Linked DNA regions of Homo sapiens: region 1 is linked to region 2. The links are contacts of gene promoters, found by promoter capture Hi-C in blood cells and fetal thymus (Javierre and others, 2016). All regions are on one chromosome and are shown on one strand. Each heading gives the region's core, a stretch centred on a gene start or on the middle of the fragment in contact. The rest is flanking DNA. Distances are from core to core; before and after follow the strand shown. Region 1 overlaps DHX36 (DEAH-box helicase 36). Region 2 holds the start of GFM1 (G elongation factor mitochondrial 1).

What was found. Contacts are between HindIII fragments. The CHiCAGO score rates a contact against its expected background, and 5 or more counts as called.
Region 1: a fragment that was not itself captured here is called in contact with the fragment with the promoter of GFM1 in region 2 in 1 of 17 cell types (naive B cells); the score reaches 5.3 in naive B cells.

Annotation. Positions count from the first base shown.
Region 1 is chr3:154,311,002-154,317,653 of GRCh38, reverse strand. It overlaps DHX36 (DEAH-box helicase 36), which reads left to right. Exons shown (of 25, transcript NM_020865.3): 2 at 1,491-1,615; 3 at 2,374-2,608; 4 at 5,980-6,018. Among named protein-coding and RNA genes, the nearest start is that of DHX36, 10 kb to the left of the region's middle. The HindIII fragment of the contact is 777 bases long and covers 2,944-3,720 here.
Region 2 is chr3:158,639,856-158,646,494 of GRCh38, reverse strand. It overlaps GFM1 (G elongation factor mitochondrial 1), which reads right to left and starts at 1,968. Exons shown (of 18, transcript NM_024996.7): 1 at 1,780-1,968; 2 at 714-866; 3 at 198-330. The coding sequence starts at 1,860. The HindIII fragment of the contact is 2,960 bases long and covers 1,371-4,330 here.

The sequences.
Region 1 (6,652 bases), core at 2,083-4,582, 4.3 Mb after region 2:
TTTTTTCAGTTCTCTGCCTTACTTACGTCCATTTTATACTTCTGAGTCCTTTTTTAACACCTTTCTTCACTTCATAGGAGTGGTTTTCTCACTGTGTGCTCCTAGTCTTTTGTTTGTTCTCTTGATTACTCCTCTGACTTATTTTCTTGCCTTGGCCCCGTGAATGCCAGACTTGGTCATCCGTCTGTCCTCATCTTTGGAGGTGGTATTATTTGTAAATTAAGAGAATTCCTGTGTCTCTGTGATTTCAACTTTGCAGAACACTCCAAAATTTCTATCATAACTCTAAAAACAAAACCTCTCAGAGATCAATTTCCATATATTCATCTACCTAGTCATTATTACAAGTCGGGAAATTTCATCTTTGTTCTTAATTGCCTAAAATCCAAACTTAGCATCCTATTGTGACCTCCATCACCACCACATGTACACAAAAATGTACAGTAACACAGAGCAGCTTCCTTTTAATGATTCATCTTACTGCTGCTCTCTCAGGATCCACCCTTGAATTTGAAAACAGTTCTTTGATTCTTTCTTCCTTTTTGTCTCTCCCCAACTTCCACCAAATAGTCATTAAGTCCTGTGGTTTCTTTCTTTCGATTTTTGACTGTTTTCTTTCCATTTATACTTTTACCTTCCTCCTCCTTTGGTTCTTTAACCTAACACACTCTAATTTTCACCACTCCGCGTGTGTTTCCTTTTGCCTGTGGATTTATATGCACGTTAGAACCTAAGGTTTGTAGTCCCATAAATTTTGAAGAATCTGTTTTTCAACTTTTCAACTTACTATATCTAAATATAAAAGTCTCCAAAGAATTGGGTTTTGGCATTCATTCTCTTTTTTTTTTTTTCACCTTGGACATTTCTTAGATGCGTAAAGTTTCTGCAAAGTTTCATAGTTCACCAAGGACCTTTATATTTGTCCAGTCTGTTGTGTTTTATTCTCATTCTTTGAAGCAACTGCGTCATTTGCCACATTGGATCACCTTATAAGCACTGATGAATTTTATTTACTCCTTCTGAGCTCAGCCTTACTTACCAATTTATTCTTCTGTTTAGTGTAAGAACTTTCAAATGTTCATTACAACCAAACTATTTCCAGTTTTCAACTTTTTTCGTAAACCATTTGAGTTTTAATAACTTTGAAATTTTAAGATAAGGAGAAATTCATAATAATTAGTATGTGAGGGTTTGGGGTAAGAGAACCAGAGTTGTAGGAAGAGACATAAATGAGCTTTCTTTGCCAATCATATTAGGGCTAATTTTATAAATGCTTGTTGGAAAAGGTCTAGAAGGATATGTACGAAAATTTTAACAATTAATTAGGTCTAGGAAGGGGGGTATTGGGCTAGAGGACACCTGTGGATAACTTTCTTTTATATGTATTTGTTGAACATATATTACTTAGCCTTTATTTTCTTCAGTATCAAATAATTTTTGCATATGCTTTCTTATGTTGACAAGGATGCTTTTTTCTTTGCACAAACTAGAGAGCTGTAGTACACATGGATGAACGACGAGAAGAACAAATTGTACAGTTACTGAATTCTGTTCAAGCGAAGAATGATAAAGAGTCAGAAGCACAGATATCCTGGTTTGCTCCTGAGGATCATGGGTACGACAAGAAATATTTTTTTAAAGAATAGGCAAAGAGTAACACTTTAATAATAAAAATAACATCTTTATTTTCTTCGATAAGTGAATTTTAACCTTTACGTACTTTTTTTCCTTATGTAGATTAAACAGATTTAGAAAATGACTTTTAAAAATTTAGATGGCATGTTTCCATAGGAAAGCTAAATGGTATGAATAATAGTGTATCTGGATATGAGATGTATTAAGTTGTTATTTATTGTTCTCCCTACCTGTCCTCTTTGTATTTATGAAATTATTCTGTCTGGGAGATCTGCAAGAAGTGAAATTGCTACCGTTTTAGAAAGATTACAAGAACTGTATCATTTAGAGGAAAAATTAGTACAAGTATTTCAAAGACTGTGTATTGTAGCATCCTATTTGTAGCTCAGAAAGGGTGGCAAGAAAAAAAGATGTTGTGACATAAAACAAGTTCGAGAAATCCAGAAAAAGAGAAACACTGTAAGTAACCGCAGTGAAGGAATGACTATTCTGTGGATTTTTATTTTTAACTATCACAAGGAATAACTTAATCTGGCAATATCTATTTAAAGGGAAGAAAAATTTGAATTTATTATAAGAATCTAAGTATATTTTCATAATTACTGTACTAAGAGAAAAGAAAAGCTTTGGATTTGGATGACTTTGAAATATTTCAACAGCGTATTGTTTTGTTTTGTTTTGTTCCAGTGTTTGAGTGGCTCATCTGACCTTTCTTCCTTTCTTATTTTGTCAAAACAGATACGGTACTGAAGTTTCTACTAAGAACACACCATGCTCAGAGAACAAACTTGACATCCAGGAAAAGAAGTTGATAAATCAAGAAAAAAAAATGTTTAGAATCAGGAACAGATCATATATTGACCGAGATTCTGAGTATCTCTTGCAAGAAAATGAACCAGATGGAACTTTAGACCAAAAATTATTGGAAGATTTACAAAAGAAAAAAAATGACCTTCGGTATATTGAAATGCAGGTAGTAGAAAGATGTCAAAAAATATTTTGTCATTTTTTTCTTACACTTTATAAAAATGTATGTATGGTTAGAGGTAGCTGCATGGCATAGATCAGTGAGATCCTCAACAAGACATCCCTGTGGGAATTAATTTCTTTTCGAATGGTAGAGAAAAGCAGTGGGAATGGAAGTTACACATAACCTACAGTATCCTATCTCATCCACAGAAGCTTATGTGGTGAGAAGAAATGTTTGAGAAATGCTAGTGCCAATGAAAAAAAAACTTACTCTTCAGCTTTTCTAGGCCAGTTTAGTGAGGTGCCATGTGCAGTAAAGGCAGTTAAAATTGTAAAGCTTGTTCCAGATTACTTAATACATCTTCTTTTTATAGATGATAAAATTAAATATTTCAAAAATTATGTGATGTGCTTTGTTCACTAACATTTTAAATACAGGACTATCACAACACCTGAGATCTCCTGAATTCTGATATTTTCTTTCTATGCTAGGCAAGATATTTTAAGGTCCCTTTCAGTTAAAACATAAAATTGTGTGATTTGTGGGTGTTCTAGAGATGTAATAAAGTGGTCTCATGTATGTATGTATATGTTTAAGAGAAATTACTGAGGAAACTCTGAGGGCCATATCTTTAATATGTAAATACATACTGCTGTCTTTGATAAAGGAAGGATATAGCACCTCCTATAGGAAAGAAAGGATCCCTTGGCTCACTGATGAAAGCTGAATTTCCTTAATAGGAAAGAAAGGATCCATTGACTGTTACTGATGACAGTTGGATTTCCGTATTAGAATAGATAAGCTGAGGTTGTCCAGGGCCAAATTGTGTAGCTCTTTGATGCCTGTTGGGTAAAAATGTGATTTGAAAATGGAGGAAATTTCAGGATGAATTAATTGAGAATCTTCTGGTTGAGAAGAGCTGCTTTAACAGCCTTAACAGGAGGAATTAGTGTCTTTCTCTTTGCTGTATATGATGGACAGAACTCATATACTAAAGATGGGTGATTGATCTAGTTCAGAGAAAGAAAAATGTGTAAAACATTTAAAAAGTTGGTGGTCTTCCTATTTCCCATATGTTGTCATAAATGCTTCATGTGTACTATATTATTTAAGCTTCTCAACAACCTTGAATAAGAGACTACATGTCTGTTGTAGATGAGGAAAAAGATTTAAGTGACCTACCTGAGGTTGCATAGCTCATAACAGAATCAGATCTAAAATTCAGCTGTGTTTAACAACTCAGCTTTTTAATCATTTTTAGCATGTGCAATATTTTTTCTTTATGTTCTTTAATAAACATTAATTTTCTACTTACTGGATGCCAGTTACTGTGCTATATATGTGTGCGTGTATGTATATATATATATTTAAGACAGGGTCTCACTCTGTCACCCAGGCTAGAGTACAGTGGTGCCATCATGGCTCACTGCAGCCTCGACCTCCTGGGCTCAAGTGATCCTTCCACCTTAGCCTCCTGAGTAGCTGGCACTACAGGCATGTGCCAGTACGCCTGGTTAATTTTTGTATTTTTTGTAGAGACAGGGTTTTGCTTTGTTGCCCAGGCTGGTCTTGAACTCCTGGGCTCAAGCAATCCTCCTACCTCCACCTCCCCAAATTCTGTAATTATGGGAGTGAGCCACACCAGCCAGTTATGCTTATTACTGTTTTTGAAGAGTAATAAGATATTTCCTGTCCTCAGAGAGCTTATAGTTGAATTATCTCACATCTTCGTTATGGTCAAAAGTTAACAAAGTAGAAACTTTGGCTGCCTTGGGAAAGAATATTGGACTATACCTCTCTTTCCAGTGGCATTTACATGTATAAAGCAAATACGATTAATGCCAGTTTGAAATGCAGTGGGATAGCTTGTGTATAATTATGTGTTAAGATGGTAACATTTGACTACCTGGGGTGTTAATACTTATGTCATTAAAAATAGTTTTTAGATAATTTAAAAATTATTACAAGATAAGTAAGTTATTACAAGGTAAGATAAGTGTGGTAGCTTTTGTTATTTTAAATGACTAGAATTCATTTCAGTCTTCACATTGACTGTTATTTTTATGGTATTGGTAAGAATTACCTGACCATAACAAACATGGCAATAATATAATACTAGATTACCAAAGACAGTTCTTTATTTATTTTATATATATATATATATATATATATATATATATATATATATATATATATTTTAATTATTTCCTTTTTTTTTTTTGAGATGGAGTCTTGCTCTGTCACCCAGGCTGGAGTGCCGTGGCACGATCTCGGCTCACCACAACCTCCACCAATTCTCCTGCCTTAACCTCCCAAGTAGCTGGGACTACAGGCGTGTGCCACTATGCCCAGCTAACTTTTTGTATTTTTAGTAGAGACGGGATTTCACCTTGCTGGCCAGGCTGGTCTCAAACTCCTGACCTCATGATCTGCCTGCCTCGGCTTCCCAAAGTGCTGGGATTACAGGCGTGAGCCACCATACCCAGCCGATTTTTTCCATCTTAATAAAGGGTGTTTATTAAAGCTGACTTTATTTTTATGCCACTGAAGTTTTTTTTTTACATTATATGTACCTAGTTGAATGTAAACTACAGGACTGCTTCTTAAATGTTTTTATGTAATACGGGTATAGAGTTCCATAAAAGTTTTCAGAATTAGGAAGAAATTGTCACATAAATATAGGAAAAATAGTCATTCCTTTTGTAGTATTCTAATTGTAATTTAACACATTTGAAATTCATTGAGTAGCTTATATGTTTCAGAAACTGGTATTTGCTTTTTATATAAAGGTTTTTCATTTAGATCTTGTGGCAACCGTATGAGATAAAATCTTTGAGGCATTCATACTTTAAGTTTGACTTAACTGAGATCACAGCTCTAAAATGGCAGTACCAGATTTTCTGACTGCAGATATTACTTGTTTTAAGTTTTCTCTTACACTCAAAGGCAAGTATATCCTGAAATTTTTGATTCTGCTCCAGTACTTAATGTATTAGTAAATAGTGCACTGTTGGGTGGGAAAAACATAATATAGAAATCAAATCTAAGATGAATATATAAAACATATTGAAAAATAGTGAAAGTAATTTAGCAATTATTAGAATACTGTTAGAGGACAGATCCGATTTCATTTTACTGCCACTGACTTAAAGCATTGTCTCTATTTTGCTGGATGTAATGGAGTTCTGGTTTTGAATGTTTCAGACATAAAAGGAATTGGTAAATTATTCTTTATAATGTTTTTACACAAGCCATGAGATAATAAAAATACTTTCGGATTCTAGCCAATTTACCCTGTGATGTATCCTAAATACCATGATTATAATTTGATTACATATCTTCTGTGAAAATTTAAAACTTTTTTTAAATTTCAGCATTTCAGAGAAAAGCTGCCTTCGTATGGAATGCAAAAGGTAAAGTGCTTTTTTCCACTATTTAATTTGATTTGCAAATTAAATACACAATTTTTTTTAAAGCTCTATATCAAGAAAAAATGTAAATTAATGAACTTTCTTTTACAGGATAGTATTGGAAGTTAATTTTATTCTTTTGAATTAAGGACAAAAAGAAAAAAAAGGTTCATAAACAATTTTCCTCATGTTTGCTCCTGTTTTTGTCCATAATTGAAATCTTTGAAATTTAAAAAGTAAAATTTCCTCCTATAAGTTAGTTTGGATAAATACCTTGCAGTTAAGTCAAGACCAAATACTTCAGTTAAAAATAATATACAAATTATTGTATTAATTAAAATCAATGTACAAAAAAAGTACTACTAAAAATACAGTTAATTTTAATTTATTACACTATATCTTAACATATGATTACCCTATGTAGAATAATAGGATCTCTCATCCTTCTCTGTTTTCTCAACCTTATTTTATTTTATTTTACTTTATTTTTTACTTTTCATAGCACTTGTTACCACCTGACATCTGTTTGTCTTCCCCTCCCAGGCCAGTGTAAGTTCTTGAGGATAGGATTTGTTTTGTTCACTCTGTGTCTCTTGACTCAGAACAGTGCCTGGCATTCTAAAGACTTCCAGTAAAT
Region 2 (6,639 bases), core at 719-3,218:
CAATTTACTTGCACAAATTTTCAAGAAAACTACATAAGGATGAAGTGCTCTAGGTCCTAAGTTAGTCTTCTTTAATAGGAATTCAGTGTTACACTTTTGAGTATTTGACAATCAAAAACTAATTGGGTCACAGTAAGAGAAAGAACCAAATGTGCTTTTGCCAAAGAAGCTGCAATAAAACCAAGAATCCAACTCACCAGGAGTATCTATAATGTTAATATTGACATCTTTCCACATGGTGTAAGTGGCTGCTGACTGAATAGTGATTCCTCTTTGTCTCTCTAGTTCCATGGAATCCATGACAGCACCAACTCCATCTTTACCTTTCACCTAAACACAAGCACAGCAATTCAGACTTTCTCTGTCCCTGCATTCCAAGAAGGAAAGAAATCTTAACTGAAATGGAAACAGTTGCCAGGTGCAGTGGCTCATGCCTATAATCCCAGCACTGTGGGAGACTGAGGCAGGATGATAATTTGAGCCCAAGAGTTTGAGACCAGCCTGAGCAACAAAGTGAGACCTCTTCTATAAAAAATAAAAATAAAACCAGAACACAGATACTTAACTTAAGCAACTTTCAGATAAGCCTAACTGTCAAAAGTCCGCTGTTACCATTGTTTTAATCTTTCAGGTTTATAAGCTTTATTAAATAATAGCAACAAAACAATTAAAATCTGGTTCTAATTAATCCGGAATCAACCGTGAATATATACCTCATGCATCTTTGCAATTCTGCCAGTGTAGTAAAGGACTCGTTCTGTTAATGTAGTTTTCCCAGAATCAATGTGAGCTGAGATTCCAATATTTCGTATTTTTTCATTAGGAATCACCCCTGATGAAGACCATCGGCAGGCCTTCCAATTAACCTGAAAAAAATACGAGAGCTCAATTCTATGCACCTTTTATAAGAGAGAACAACAGACAATTAAAAGGAGTATGGTGGACATTATTCCTCCAAGAAATCTCACTGGATATGAGATAGCTTGAGAAAGGCACCAGGGGAAACCTTTAAGCCTGGAACTCTTGTAATCAGAGGACAGACTTCAAAACAAGACAGTAAAGACGTATTCTTTTAAAATTAATTAATGAATAAGTTAAATTTAATTAAAATGGGAGACACTTTTTACTGCAGATTTGAAAATACACACTGGGGCAGATAAAATCACAAAGACAGCTCCAAAAAATACTTTAATAGAAAATACAAATTTTAGCTTAAATTTAACTTAATTTTTTTCCCTTTCTCCTTTATTGTAGTTCACAGATGACAAATATGTTTGAGAACTTATATGCTCTATGCAGTGATGCTAGTAGCTCCAAGACAGCCCCCAAAGATTTCCAATTCCCTCCAAACAAAAACAATTCATGAAGCTTGTTTTAACTTTACTCTGGTGGCAGGGGATGGGGATCCCTATTAGATGGAATGAAGATACAATATAAACCTTTCCCTATAGGACTGCACATCCAAAATGCACAATTATTCACGGGAAAAGAGAGGCAAAAAAAAAAAAAAAAAACCTTAGAAAAGGTGGATAAAATATCAAAGTATCTGAGTGACAGACACTTTTAGTTGATTAAACCCTAGGGATACCAGAGAGCGAAACAAACGAGCTAACGAGCTAATGTGCAGGCACCGAGGTGCTTTTCAGCACTGACGAGCGACTGCCAGTATTCGGAGCTGTCAGTCATGAGGACCCAGGGGGTGTCACGGCCTTCCATTGCCCAGAAGGGATCACAAGGTTCCGGGAATGGTCCCGATTTAGCCTCTCTATGCTCCGGTACCTGCTTCCTCTGCCAGCCTAGGGAGGCGGGGGCCCTTCCGCGCCCCAGAGCCGCGACGGCTGCAGCTCCCAGGAGTCTCATGGCAAGCGCAGAGCACGCGTCAAAGTCCCGTGGCGCCGGGTGGGTTCAGCTGCCGGTAACGCACCGGGAAGCGGTCAAAGTCACGCCGGCAGCCAATGTTGTAAGAGCACTTCCGGGGCAAAGGACGCGAGGAAAAAGAGAGTGAGGAAAAGAAAGAAGAGCAACTGGATTGGAGGCGGAGCAGTGCCTACGCTGCTCGCGCGCCGTCTGCCGACTTGGAAGAGAAAGTGCAATCGCTTTGCGGAGCTAAAGAAGTGTTTGCTCCCAGTAAGACGGCATAGGTATATGGGTGAGGGAAGGGAGTCCTTTTGTCTTCGTCTTCTTTTTTAAATATTACCTCTGTATGAAGATACAGAATTTAAACATGGTTGTTAGGCCTATAAAGCAATGTGGAGAAATGTATATAACAATTTAAGTAGAAAAGAGCAAAATTGTCTATTACAAATATTAATAGGTATATATATGACATGGCCTGAAAAAGAACGTGGACAAATTATAGTGAATGAACTATCAATTACAATTACAAATACTTTTCCTCATGTCAAAATGTTATTTGTTATTGTTCGATGTCAGACATTTCATGTCCTGTCCATGTGGAAGACTGCATCCTTGACCATTCTGCTTGGATGTGTTAAGAGGCATGTTGAACCTAACAGGTCCAAAACTGAGCTTCGGATCTTCTTCCCCAAACCTTCCACAGTCTTATCCATCTCATAAATGTAAACTTTAGTGATTCTAGCCAAAAATATTAGTCGCTTTGACACCATGCTGTGACATCTCCGGTCTAATCAGTCAGCATATCCTGTAAGCTCTACTTTCAAAAAGACATCCAGGGCCGGACGCGGTGGCTCACACCTGTAGTCCCAGCACTTTGGAAGGCCGAGGCGGGCAGATCACGAGGTCATGAGATGGAGACCATCCTGGCTAACACAGTGAAACCCCGTCTCTACTAAAAATACAAAAAAAAATTAGCCGGGCGCGGTGGCGGGCGCCTGTAGTCCCAGCTACTCGGGAGGCTGAGGCAGGAGAATGGTGTGAACCCAGGAGGCGGAGCTTGCAGTGAGCCGAGATCACGCCACTGCACTCCACCCTGGGTGACAGAGCGAGTCTCAAAAAAAAAAAAAAAAAAAGAAAATCCAGAACTTACTTCTCCCCACCTCTCAGTACTGCCGTTTCTGGAGGGAACTATTGTAATAGCCTTGTAACCGATCTCACTGCTTCTATCCTTGCTGTTGTCAGTGGGCCGGTTCAGGTGCTTGACTTCACCACACAAAAGAATTTGAAAGCAAGTACAAAGTAAGAGTAGGCAAAAAAGTTTATTGTAAACCAAAAGTACACTCTGAGAGGCAGAGTGGGCTGCTCAGAAGAGAGACAGACAGCCTTTAGTATCTCTAGGGAATTCCCTTTATGGGTGAGGCAGGAGAACAGGGTCTAGAGACAGGGAACCGAAGGCCCTGCTGACTTCCTAGAGCTGAACCAAAAGGAAAACCCCACCTCTCCATGCCCAAGTAACAAAAGGATCGGAGGCTACTCCCAATGCACTGCATTGCAGATGAAAAAATGGAAAGTACCTCTGACTGGTCCCCTCTGGCAAATAATCAGACTGGTAGCAGGCCAAGTCCTCATGTGTAACTTTGTAACTTCACTTCAGCCTCTGATTGGTCACCTCCTGCAACCAAGCAGGCTGGTTATGGGCCACTCCTTCATTTACATAGGGTGTAACCAATGGGAACGCTCTAGAGGGTATTTAAATCCCAGAAAATTCTGTAACAGGTGCTCTTGAGCTGTGGAGTGTACTTTTGTTTCAACACATCTGTGCCTTCATTGCTCCATTCTTTCATTGCTTTGCTTATGTGTTTTGTCCAATTCTTTGTTCAAACGCCAAGAACCTGTATGACTCATAGTCAAGACCCTTCACTGGTAACATGGGAGCTGTACATATATATTCATAAAATACTGGTAAGGTCAAGTATGCAAAGGTGGACCTGTGGTTGGCACAGGTACTTGGCATCTACATGTTCTAACACAGGAGTCCCCAACCTCTGGGCCAGAGACCAGTATCAGTCCATGGCCTGTTAGGAACCAGGCCACACAGTAGGAGGTAAGCAGTGGGCGAGCGAGTGAAGTTTCATCTGTATTTACACCCTCTCCTTATCACTTGTATTACCACCTGAGCTCTGCCTCCTGTCAGATTAGCAGTGGCATTAGATTCTCATGGGAGTGTGAACCCCCTTGTGAACTATCCATTCAAGGGATCTGGGTTACGCACTCCTTATGAGAATCTAATGCCTGATGACCTGAGGTGGAGCTAAGGTGTGGCCGCTAGGGCTGGGGAACAGCTGCAAATACAGATTAACATTAGCAAAGAGGTTTGACTGCACAGAGACCATAATAAATCAATTGCTTGCAGATTCATATCAAAACCCTGTCAGTGAGTGTCAAGTGACAAAAGCTGCACTGGTGGCAAGCTTTATAGTGGCAAGTGAGTTGATGTATTTCAGTTGTACAGTTGCATCTGATGGCAGGCTTTAAAGTCTTGCGTGGCCCGCCCATTATTTTATTTACCACTTCCGTCCGCGCTTCCTTCCCACACTGAGCACTTGCCTCAGTCACAGTTTTGGTAAGCCCACAACCTAACTCTAGCCAAAACGAGTAAAAAACAAATGTCACTGGAGAGCTTCTTTGAAAATGGGGAAAGACCCAATGATGAGAAAATGGAAAACTCTAAGACTGCTAATAAAAGGAAAGCTGCATGTGAAAGAAAATACCTAGAGTCCTACTTAAATTGCAGGTTCACTGCAACAGGTGATTCACATTCTCCAAGCCTGCTTTATATAATATGTGGCAAGCGGCTATCCAACAAACCCATGAAACCTTCAAAACTGCTTCGCCACATGGAGACCAAGCACCCTACATAAAAAGAGAAGCCTTTGGAGTTTTTCAAAAGAAAAAATGTGGACACGAAGAACAGAAGCAATTATTGAAGGCCGCCACTTCCATCAAATGTGTCTGCATTGACAGTGTCATTCTTAGTGGCTAACAGCATTGCTAAGCTAAGAAGCTCTTTACTACTGGAGAATTGAACCTGCCTGCTGCTAAGGACATTTGTCATGAACTTTTAGGAGATGCTGCAGTTCAAAAGGTGGCACGTGTGCCTCTTTGGGCTAGCACCATAATTAGAGGAAATGATGAAATAGCAGAGGATATCGAGGCACAATTACTAGAAAGGATTAATGGGGCTGGGTGCAGTGGCTCATGCCTATAATCCCAGCACTTTGGGAGGCCGAGGCGGGCGCATCACAAGGTCAGGAGTTCAAGACCAGCCTGACCAACATGGTAAAACCCCATCTCTACTAAAAATACAAAAATCTGCCAGGCATGGTGGCATGCGCCTGTAATCCCAGCTACTCAGGAGGCTGAGGCAGGAGAATCACTTGAACCCGTGAGGCGGAGGTTGCAGTGAGCCAAGATCATGCCACTGCACTCCAGCTTGGGTGACAGATCGAGACTCAATCTCAAAAAAAAAAAAGAAAAGAAAGGATTAATGGGTCACTCTGGTACAAAATCCAGGTTGATTAATTTACTGAGGTTGACAACAAGTCAACAATGCTTGTTTTTGTGTGATTTTTCAGGTGGATGTGCATGAGGATATGTTATGTGCACTTTTGTTGCCAACCAACACCACAGCGGCAGAACTAGTCAAGTCTTTGAATGATTACATAGCAAAACTGAATTGGTTATTTTGTGTCAGTTTATGGACCGACAGAGCAGCTGCCATGACTGGACAGCTTTCTGGTTTCACTATTCGGGTCAAAGAGGTTGCTTCTGAATGTGAGTCTACACACTGAGTCGTCCATAGAGAAATGCTAGCTAGCCAGAAAGTATCAAATGAACTTAACGTTTTGCAGGATGTGATTAAAATTATCAACCACATTAAAGTACGTGCCCTTAACTCACATCTGTTCACACAGCTCCGTGAGGAGATGCACACAGAGCACACACACCTTCTTATACACAGAAATGAGATAGCTTTTTAAAGGTGGATCACTGGCCAGAGTTTCTGAGTTATGAGAGTCATTCCACAGATTTCTTTTTTTTTTTTTAATTATACTTTAAGTTTTAGGGTACATGTGCACATTGTGCAGGTTAGTTACATATGTATACATGTGCCATGCTGGTGCGCTGCACCCACTAACTCGTCATCTAGCATTAGGTATATCTCCCAATGCTACCCCTCCCCCCTCCCCCCACCCCACCACAGTCCCCAGAGTGTGATATTCCCCTTCCTGTGACCATGTGATCTCATTGTTCAATTCCCACCTATGAGTGAGAATATGCGGTGTTTGGTTTTTTGTTCTTGCGATAGTTTACTGAGAATGATGGTTTCCAATTTCATCCATGTCCCTACAAAGGACATGAACTCATCATTTTTTATGGTTGCATAGTATTCCATGGTGTATATGTGCCACATTTTCTTAATCCAGTCTATCATTGTTGGACATTTGGGTTGGTTCCAAGTCTTTGCTATTGTGAATAATGCCGCAATAAACATACGTGTGCATGTGTCTTTATAGCAGCATGATTTATAGTCATTTGGGTATATACCCAGTAATGGGATGGCTGGGTCAAATGGTATTTCTAGTTCTAGATACCTGAGGAATCGCCACACTGACTTCCACAATGGTTGAACTAGTTTACAGTCCCACCAACAGTGTAAAAGTGTTCCTATTTCTCCACATCCTTTCCAGCACCTGTTGTTTCCTGACTTTTTAATGACTG